Linked DNA regions of Homo sapiens: region 1 is linked to region 2. Evidence: promoter capture Hi-C in 16 types of primary human blood cells and fetal thymus (Javierre and others, 2016). All regions are on one chromosome and are shown on one strand. The core of a region is centred on a gene start or on the middle of the fragment in contact, and the rest is flanking DNA. Distances in the headings are between cores, read along the strand shown. Region 1 overlaps ZNF451 (zinc finger protein 451). Region 2 holds the start of ZNF451 (zinc finger protein 451).

Evidence for each region. Contacts are between HindIII fragments. The CHiCAGO score rates a contact against its expected background, and 5 or more counts as called.
Region 1: a fragment that was not itself captured here is called in contact with the fragment with the promoter of ZNF451 in region 2 in 10 of 17 cell types (naive CD4 T cells, naive CD8 T cells, total B cells and 7 more); the score reaches 10.0 in naive CD4 T cells.

Annotation. Positions count from the first base shown.
Region 1 is chr6:57,153,884-57,159,160 of GRCh38, forward strand. ZNF451 (zinc finger protein 451) reads left to right here. Exons shown (of 15, transcript NM_001031623.3): 13 at 1-164. All of the region lies in intron 2 of ZNF451-AS1 (ZNF451 regulatory antisense RNA 1), which reads right to left. Among named protein-coding and RNA genes, the nearest start is that of ZNF451-AS1, 16 kb to the right of the region's middle. The HindIII fragment of the contact is 4,561 bases long and covers 983-5,277 here.
Region 2 is chr6:57,086,841-57,092,165 of GRCh38, forward strand. It overlaps ZNF451 (zinc finger protein 451), which reads left to right and starts at 3,348. Exons shown (of 15, transcript NM_001031623.3): 1 at 3,348-3,434; 2 at 3,971-4,054. The coding sequence starts at 3,414. RefSeq lists enhancers at 3,017-3,166, 3,034-3,916 and a silencer at 3,337-3,406. The HindIII fragment of the contact is 8,135 bases long and covers 1-5,325 here.

The DNA.
Region 1 (5,277 bases), core at 2,013-4,512, 67 kb after region 2:
ACCCAAGCAAATTCCTTTCACCATCCTCTCAGGAGATCAAGGTTTTCTGGAGCTAGAGAATCAATTTAAGAAGACTCAGAGGCCAGCTCATATACTAAACCCTCACCACTTAGAGGGAGATATGATGTGTGCCTTGTTAAATAGCATATCTGATACCACCAAAGGTACGCAGCTGCAGTCACAGTGCAAACCACCCAAGAGGAGGAGACTTCACTGCTGAGAGAAACCAATAAACTGCTGTCCGCTAGTGAACTGTTGCCTGCTTGCTAAACCATCATGTTCTCTTACTTCTATCTTACTTATCTTTTTTAAAAAAATCTCACTTTCATTCTTTAGTGTTTTAGAAGGAGGATGAATTCATAATAATTTTCTGGAGCTTTTTTTGATCTAGTAGATAAAATCTATATTGATGTATATAAAACATATATTCATGTGTTACAGTATGTTACTACAATTTTAAAAGCTCAGAATTCAGATCTTCACTTTGTTTCTGAAATTCCAAGTTGACCTTCAGTTTTTTAGAAAGCAGTGCGCTTAGAGGTGAAAACCAGAAAGCAATAACAAAGGTGATCATTTAAGAGGTTGACAGTGACAAAATAAAACGCTGATAGGCTTTTAGGTCCTTAGAGAAGTGGGTACATCCTATCTTATTGCTGGGACTTGCACTTTCTTCTGTACCTTTGTGAGATTGTTCAATGAAAGGAGTGCTGATACCCAATTTCACTTCCTAGTATATAAGAAAAGATGTAATTCTAAGGATTCAGAAGTTTTGTTTTTCGTTTTTCATAATTTCTGCAGTCAAATGCTCTACCACTGAGTTATAACCCCCTTTTTCATAATCTCTGAAGTAAAGAAATATGGATAGAATAATTAATGTTTAAATATCCTAATAATTTAAATTCATGAATAAGGTTTGAAGATATTAATGAATTACCTTAATGAAAAATAGTGGCTTTTTGGCATTTTTATTGTGTGCCTTTAAAGCTTTCAAGTCTGCTTGCCTCCTAGATTTTTTTTTTCTTTCAATATATTTGGAAGCACATTTTGATTGAAAACTCATTCTGGAGAATTTTGCTGTAATCACTGATTACAGTGGATCAATTCACTTCTGCAAAGTTAGGAATCAGTAATCTGTGCTCTTTATACTCTTTAAAGTGGAGTAATGATGGAAGATTATAAAAGAAAATGAACTCTTGTGTCTTTATGTCATGCCTTAGTTCTGAGTATTATCTTCCTATTCTGTAATTTTTGTTTTCACTTGTTTTTCTATCTGTGGCTTTCTTTTTTCTTAAAACAAAAAACAAAAAAACAAAAAAAACAGGCTGGGTGCAGTGGCTCACACCTGTAATCCCAGCACTTTGGGAGGCTGAGGTGGGTGGATCACCTGAGGTCAGAAGTTCAAGACCAGCCTGGTCAACATGGTGAAAACCCATCTCTACTAAATATACAAAAATTAGCTGGGCATGGTGGCGGTTGCCTGTAATCCCAGCTACTCGGGAGGCTGAGGCAGGAGAATCGCTTGAACCCAGGAGGCGGAGGTTGCAGTGAGCTGAGATTGCACCATTGCGCTCCAGCCTGGGCAATAAGACCAAAAACTTCGTCTCAAACAAAAAGCAAAACACCTCTTCTACTCTTTTGCCATCGCTTTCCCAGTTCTCAACATCTACTTAATATCCTATAAGATAAAGTTTTACCTTTGCCGCACAAGGCCAACCTCCCTTTCCTTCTCTTATGCTTCTGCTTTTGGGAACATTTCTTTTATAACTCCAAATGTGAAACCTGTTATGGTTTTGCAGAGGCAAAACCATATTCTGTTTGGAATGAGAGGTGAATACGAGTAGACTTGCATGGGTATATTACAGTTGGAGGTAAGATACAGGTTATTAATATCTGCTGATTATGCCCTTCCAAATGACTCTTATGTTCTAGGTATTCTTTTTTTTTTTTTTTTTTTTTAATCACTCATACTCAGTACTCATTTGAACTAACTACTCTCTGGAGGCACATGTGTACTTTATTCTTAGTTTTTGTGACATACAGAGATTGTGCACTGCATGAAGAAGGATATGGGCTTTGGTTCAAATGCTAACTTTGCTGTTTCCTAGCAGCGCGATTTCAGGCATGTTACTTAACTTTTTTGGAGCCTCATTTTTTTGTATTTATATGGTTGTAATAGTTAGTGATGTATGTAAAGTGTCTAGCACAGTATATAAAGCACTTTAGCTATTTAACAAATAATAGCTATTTTTTATTATTACTACCATAAAAAGAAAATGTGATTCCTAGCCACTACATTTTTAATGTTACACTGAATCATAGTATGTTCAGGCTTAGTTATCTGATTTAAGACCAAATTTTTTCTTCATGGAAGACTTAAAACCATCAAATTTCCTGTAGTGAACTTTATAAGGAATCAAAGAAAAATCATTTTCTTGGATAACTTTTATTCCATTTCCTTTCCTAACAAATAGCTTTGTGAATAGTTGAGTAATAGTTTCTATTAAGGAATGGTATTTAATGTATAATGGGACTCAATAAATCTCTCAATGTCCATTAATAATATAATTTTTGTTACTAAAGAATGCCAGATAACTCCTTGCACATAGCTAAACATGGTGTTCCTTCTTGTTTTCAGATTTGACAGCCAGTCAGTTTCTTAAGGCAATGTGGTTTTTGGGGTGAAGGGGTCACTGGACCTTTTTGAGAATCTGATGAAAACTTTCTATACCCTCCATCCCCCAAAATAAACATGTATGTACTACATTGCATACAATTTCAAGGGATTTGTGGTCTCAACGCTTCTAGATGCCAATCAACAAACAAAATTGTCCTTTGGGATGTAACCTAAGTTTATACTATAAGTCAACAGTCCCCAACCATTTTGGCACCAGGGACTGGTTTCATGGAAGACAATTTTTCCATGGATTGGGGGCAGGAGGTGGGGCATTAGATTCTCATAAGGAGCGTACAACCTAGATCCCTTGTACGTGCAGTTCACAATAGGGTTTGTGCTCCTATGAGAATCTAATGCCGCTGCTGATCTGACAGGAGGAGGAGCTTAGGTGGTAATGCTGGCTCACCTGCTGCTCACCTCCTGCTGTGCGGCCCAGTTCTTAACAGGCCACAGACTGGTACTGGTCCATGGCCCTGGGGTTGGGGACTCCTGCTATAAGTAACATACAGTGATAAGTTCTTTCATATTTGTTATTATATAGCCAGGCTAGTGATTTTTCAGATTTTTGAATTTTTCACCAGAGCATAGAGAAGTTGATACAAGTTTGAGTCTCTTATTCTTTATAAGTTTTCAGAAATTTACCATCAGCAGGACTAAAAAGTGGTTTTTATTAGACTAAAGATTGCTGTATAAATAGGAAGGATCTTTTGAATATTGTTATCAGAATCGATCATATGGTATCATACTAGGAGAAATTAGTCTTTGCTAATTTCTCTGTTAATTGAAAGTCTTTCCAGAGGTACTTATTTCAGTAAAAATACAGATATTTGGAGTTCCTGGTTCTGTATATCGGTGTCCAGTCATTTGTTCCTAAGGCATTGTTTTAGCATGGTGGGGAGGGGAAAGGTTAAGTAGCTTTATTACTGGTACATTTTTAGGTCTCTGACTTGGTTAGTTAGGGTAAAAGTTCTTTTCTCTACTTGTAAGCATCAGGGTTTCAACATGAGCATTTTAATTACGCTATGATATATGTATAAATTCTTGTAGAGACATTTAAAAAGTCTATTAACTTTAATTTCTGCCCCCACCTTGGTCTTCTTATCCTTCATCATTTCTATTTTATATTGTACTTATCCTCACTTTCTTAACACTTAAGATACATGGATCCTTTCTGGTAATCCCAATCAGAGAAGCCAGGTAGACTTTCTTAGACCATTTATATTTTATTCCCAAATACTTCATTATTCTAACTCAAGCCTCATGTTTCAGAGATGCAGATATAACTTGTCACTTAAATGTTGAAAGAAAAAAAAGGTGAACTTTTTAATTGAAAAAAGTTTATTGAAGTTTATTGTAGTTTATTGAAGACTACTATGTGCCAGCCACCATGTTAACTGCTTTTTATGTTTGTAGTGTTTACAGATGTTTAAATATGTTGAAAGAACTTCTTCCATATGCTTTTTAATCCCCTTTGCAAGCTACGAAGTAGGTGTTGGATTACCCCATTTTATAAGTGTGGAAGGAAGCACAGGTTCAGAAAGGTTAAATAATCTACCTGCAGTCACAGAGCAAGTGCTTTGCTTTTCATTAGTATCAACGACTGTGGTTGAGACTTTCACTGACACAAATACCTGATTCCATGATGTAGAGCTAGCCACCCAGTGTGAATTACTGGCTTTAACCATGTCCTTGAAGAATGAAGATAATGGGAAATATTCTGCCACAGTATAGGGACATTGCAGAGTTTATATAAAGATATCAAACAAGTTTTTTATTTTTAAATAACATTCAGGAAGAATGCGCTTTTTTTTTTTTGTCAGAAGAAATGATTTGGTTGTGAGTTCTGGTGCTTTAAAAAGTAAAGTGATTATATGCTGAATATAGCCAAGGAAAGCAATTAGCATTCTAATTTCTTTAGGATCTTTTGTCTCATAATTAAATGAATAAACACCATCTTTACAGGCTCCTCGAGATGTTGGCACTAGAACTACAAGCACTGCAGTGAGCTTATTGGAGTACTGCAACATGTGGTTTCAAAGAAATTCACTAGAAACCTGCCTCCCATTGCTTCCTCTACCTTTCACTTAATCGATATAAATGTTCCAGGGCACACAGAAGTTAGTATTTTCAGTGTTTTCTTATTTGGGCCAGTATCTGCTCCCTTGAGAATTACATGTAATGAAAAAGATGTTACTACAAGATAATTTTTGTTGAATCTGTATGCTCCTTAGATGGTCTTGTTTATAAGCCTGAGACTGTCATATCCATTTAGTTGTGGCTTCATTGTGGATGAGTGGGTTAGAAGCAGTAAGTAGGGTTGGCATCTATGAGTCATACCAATTACACAGATTTTTAAATCCATCTTACATATAGAGCATAAACATTCACCTAGGTGCTATGGAAGTGTAGATGATTGAAGCAGCATCATGGCCTGTGGACTAGGCATTACCTAAAATAATTGTTGAACTTATTTCTTAAAGTCTGTCTGCCTGTTGTTTCCTCAGCCTGTTAATGAAAACTATAGGTTGTTTCTTTGGGCACCATTATAAAAATATGTTGATAAAATTAATTCCATGCAAAGGTACTGAAAATAAGAAAGAATA
Region 2 (5,325 bases), core at 2,098-4,597:
GTCAACGCAATGATGGGCCCTCTTCAAGATCTTAACTTATAAGGCAAAATAATGGATTCACAGCTCAGGTAAAACAACAGCAAAAAAATTCCTCAATCACACAAAGAACATTTCCCCATAGTTTAAATTCTCCATTTTGAACCTTGAACCAGTCAGTAAACAATGCTGCTTCTTCCAATTCTAACCAGTTCCTCACTTCCCAAGATTGGCTGAAAATCACCCAACCCAATTCCTTCTTAACTTTCTAAGACTGGGAGATTCCTAAATTTTGCCTATGGCTTTTCTTCTCTTTGGCTACACCAAGCTAAATAAACCTGTCTTTTGGGGACTACAAGCATGTCTCAAATCTCTTGGTGGGCTTCAAAGGATTTTCTTTTTTTCTTTTTTTTTGAGACAGAGTCTCGCTCTGTTGCCTAGGTTGGAGTGCAGTGGCGCAGTCTCAGCTCACTTCAACTGCCTCCCAGGTTCATGCCATTCTCCTGCCTCAGCCTCCCAAGTAGCTGGGACTACAGGCACCCGCCACCACGCCCGGCTAATTCTTTGTATTTTTAGTAGAGACGGGGTTTCACCGTGTTAGCCAGGATGGTCTCAGTCTCCTGACATGGTGATCCGCCCACCTTGGCCTCCCAGAGTGCTGCAATTACAGGCATGAGCCACCACGCCCGGCCCAGGATTTTCTTTTTATTTTCTTTTTTTGAGACAGGGTCTTGCTTTGTTACCCAGGTTGTAGTGCGGTGGTGAGATTAGGTTCACTGAAGCCTTGACCTCTTGGGCTCAAGTGATCCTCCCACTCCAGCCTCCTGAGCAGTTGGGACCACACACATGTACCACCACACCTGGCTAATTTTAAATTTTTTTGCAGAGACAGGGTCTCACTATGTTACCTAGGCTGGTCTTGAACCCCTGGGCTCAAGCATTCCTCCTGCCTCCCAAAGTGCTGGGATTATAAGTGTGAACCACCACCCCCAGCCTGGATTTTCTTGTAAACACATAGTCCAGCTGCCCAGAAAAAAAATAAATTACTATTCCTGTTTAAGTAGGTTTTCTCTTTCAGGGATGCTTTTCTTGATGGCTTGACATGTGATATGGTTTGGATTTGTGTCCTCACCCAAATTCCATGTGGAATTGTAATCCCCAATATTGGGGGAGGGGCCTGGTGGGAGGTGATTGGATCATGGGGGCGGATTTCCCCCTTGCTGTTCTCTAATAATGAGTGAGTTCTCACGAGATCTAGTTGTTAAAAAGTGTGTAGCACCTCCCTGCTTTGCTTTCTTCCTCCTCTGCCCATGTAAAGAGGTTCCTCCTTCCTCTTCACCTTCTGCCACAATTTTAAGTTTCCCAAGGCCTCCCCAGCCATGCTTCCTGTACAGCCTGTGGAACTGTGAGCCAATTAAACCTCTTTCTTTTATAAATTACGCAGTTTCAGGTAGTTCTTTATAGCAGTGCAAGAACGAATACAACATGGTTCTAATTATCCTATATATTTCTTGAATTTTTGAAAAATATGCTTTGAGAAATGTTAGGTAAACATTTTCAGTGGAGATAAAACACTGTAATGTTATCTTTATAGCATACATACCAAAATTTAAACATTACATTCCCCAATTATTAGACATTTAGATATTTTCCAGTTTTTGCTGTTATAAAAAAACCTGTGATGTATCTTCAGGAAAATCCCTGCAACTACAGTTACTGAGTTGTATGGTGTGAGAAGTTTTTGGGTCTAGCCACATACTGCTTGTTTTCCAAGAATTTTACCCATTAACTCCTGCCTCAACTGATTAAATATTAGAGGACACTTTCACCAGCCCACTAGGAAGAGCTTTTAAATACAAGTTTTGCCTACACATTAACGTTTTAAAAATATTTAATTTACACACAGCTTTTGAAGAACTCCCCATGCACGTCTGTCATTCTCAATTGGCTTCCACAAGTCTCAAACTTACTAGGTAGAAAGTAACTAAAGTCATAAAGCACTTGGTGGAAATGCAGGAAATGTCAAATATTAAACAATAATTACTACAGGCTTAGGCAATCAGATGGTAGTTTTGCATACAAACAAAAACAGGAATCTGAGATGTTAAATAATTTGTGTTTTTTTTTTTTTTTTTTTGAGACAGTGTCTTGCTCTGTCACCCAGGCTGCAGTGCAGTGGCATGAATTTGGCTCCCTGCAGCCTGGATCTCAATCTCTCGGCCTCAAGCGATTCTCCTACCTAAACCTCCTGAGTAGCTGGGACTACAGGCAAGGACCACTACGCCTAGCTAATTTTTGTATTTTTTGTAGAGACGAGGTTCCCTCTTATTGCTCAGGCTGGTCTCGAATTCCTGGGTTTAAGTGAACCGCCCGCCTCGGCCTCCCAGAGTGTGAGGACCCGCCTGGCCTAAAATAATGTTATCACTTAATTCTTTTCATAAACTTTATTGACAACGATTGGTGTGTTTTTTTAAAAAACCTTTTTAAATTTTTGGTAAGGTATTACCTGAGAACAGATTAAATGCATAGTTGAATATAAAAGATCTATTTTATAGACTGGTTTATGAGTGTGAACACACAAAAGGTTAAAAGGTCAACCTTACAGCAGTCTATAAATAGATCTCTCATATTCTCTCAGTATATCTGAGAATATTGAAAAAGTGCATTTCAAAATCACTGGCTAGGGTTTAGTGATAGTTAGGTAGACCTCGGTTCCCTTTCCTATTGGGCCCTGGATTTCCCATCCCTATTTTCTTCCTCAGGTGTATTAATACTGGCAGGGCCTGGGAGACTGACGCTAGGGAAGAGGTGTGTAATGTAAGGATACTTCAGATTCTTTCCTGATCCTAGGATTCAGCTAAACCTCCACATAGCCCCTGTCCTCAAAAATGAGTAAATACATAAATTTAAAAATGAAAGGAAAAAAAGAGAAATCCGTTCCCACCACCCACCTTCAGGGCTAAAACAGAAAAATCAATGAGCTGCGCTTCACAACCATACCAAAACCAAACAAATACCAACTCAAACCCTCCTTCACATCCTCCCACATCTTCCCAGTGCTTCGCTATCTCACAGGACCCAGCTGGCCCCTGGCTTCGCCCCACCCACTGCAGCTGGCGTCTTTTAGGCGCATGGTTCTTTTCCTCTCCGGCGAGGGGCGGTCTCGGGGCGGACCCGAACTACAATTCCCAGCATCCTGCGCGGCGCGGGGAAGGAAGCCCGGGAGTGAGAGAAAGCGGCTCCGGGGGCATAGCGGGCCAGTAAGGGCCGCTCCTCCTTTGAAGAGGTTTTGCGTCTCTTTCCGCCGGTGGCGTCGGCGCTCACGCAGGGGCGGGTCCCGGTAGCGCCAGGCGGTGCAGGGCGGGAAGGGGATTCGTGGCGACGGCGGCGGCAGGGACAGCAGGAGCAGTGGTGCTGTCAGCGCGGCCGTCGGAGACATGGGAGACCCGGGGTCGGAGGTGAGTAGTCGAGTGAGGGTCCTGGCGTTCTCAGAGGCGAACCGCGAAGGGTTTGTGTTTTCTGCGGTCTGAGGCCTGGTGCTCCGTCGCAGCCTCGGGGCGATACCTCTTCAGTGTCTTGGGCCGAGCCCAGCTCTGGGGCCTGGTGCGTGTCTGAGCGAGGAACCCGCAGCAACAATGGCCGCCCGGCCCCCCGCACGGGCCCTGGCGTTCGTTGTGGCCGCGGCTGGGCCAGTGGGAGCGACGTTTTAAGGCAGGATTGCCCTTCGGTGTTGAGCTTGCGTTCCTCCTGGAGTAGATAAGGGGAATTGTGAGAGGCTGGTAACTAACGCGTTTTCAGCGTTGGGTCCCTGCAGCTCCGCACACTCTGTGGCAAGAGCCAGAGCTCGAGTTCCGTTCCTAGTCGGGTTTCCGTGAAATTGTGCTCAGTTCGTTTTCCTCAAGAGCTCTCTGTCTTTAATTGTTCCTTTCGGAAACGCTCTCTTCCTACACGAATGTGGCTGAACAGATAAGCATGTTTTGGCTTGTTTTTATAGATAATAGAATCTGTCCCTCCAGCTGGCCCTGAGGCATCTGAGTCAACAACGGATGAAAATGAAGACGACATTCAGTTTGTCAGTGTAAGTAGCAATGATGATTGGGGTTTTCCCAGAGTAAAAGACTATGGTGGGCCATTATGTAATGTTACCTCACCTGGTCATTTAATGTTCATGAGTGTCTAATACATACTAGACACTGGAGCATGGCGCAGGATTGGGAAATTTACCAAAAGAGCTATCTGAGCCACCCCCGTAGCCATCACAAAGAGCACGTCCTAAAGAACGTGCTGTACACTTAATCTCGCCCCCTGCCTTTCATTTAAACTTAAGATAAAAACGCTGGTGTCTAAAACGCTGTTTTGAAATGGAGCAAGAGTAACTTCTAAAGGCGACACGGAGGAAGGAGCTGCTAATGATGAGCAAGGACGTAGAAAACAGGAAGGGTTGTGAGAGCCCAGAATCTTAGCGTTATGGTGCTTCTAACATGAAGGCAAATAGCTTGAAGATTTCTCTAACCTCTGAGATCATCATGTTACGGCATAGTACAGTTGATGCTCATAATGAAGAATCCTACATCACTGGGAACATGCTCTATTTTTCTGAGTTTGTTCCCTTTGAGACAGTAGTTTTCAAGCCTTAGTAAGTATAAACAGGCAGATTCCTGGGCCCCACTGCAGACCTACCGAATCAGAATTTCCAGGCGGGGGCCTAGGAATCTTCATTTTCAGACAAGTGCAGGGACATAAGGATTTCTGAGCACACTTTGTACAGCATGGGTTTCCAAAGCAGAAGAGAGTGTTTTATGATGTATTTTGGGGTGATTTTCTTCCATAATTATTGGAGTTTTAGAAAGGCTTTGCGTAAAGTGGTATCTCAGCTCGCCAGGCAGAAAACGGTTCTGTCCCCAACTCGTCTTTTGGAATGCCGTAGTTAGTTGCAGTTTGGTATTCAAGCTGTAGAATTTTTCGTTGAGTGTCAGATGTGCATTTATGGTGGATGCTGGGAAACCTTGTAAAATTGGTTATTAAACAGTTTCTTTCCCAGCATTAGGGCCATTTTGGTAATTCATTTTTGTATGGTATTTTAATAGATTTGTTTAGGAGTCCTTCACAAGATTGTTTTATTGAATTTCTTTCCCTTTACCAGTGTATGTTGTACTCTCTCCTTTTCATTTTGATCTTCTACGGATTTGGAGTAGAGGATGGGGGTGAATTGTATCCTGTCCTTTCCTTCACCATGCGCTGAAGTATGTTTAATAACAGGTTTCCATGGCTCTTGAGGACAGATATTTCAGGTTCTTCCTGAATCTTGGTATATTTGTGAAGAGAATTTTTTTCTTATGGTGTTTAGTA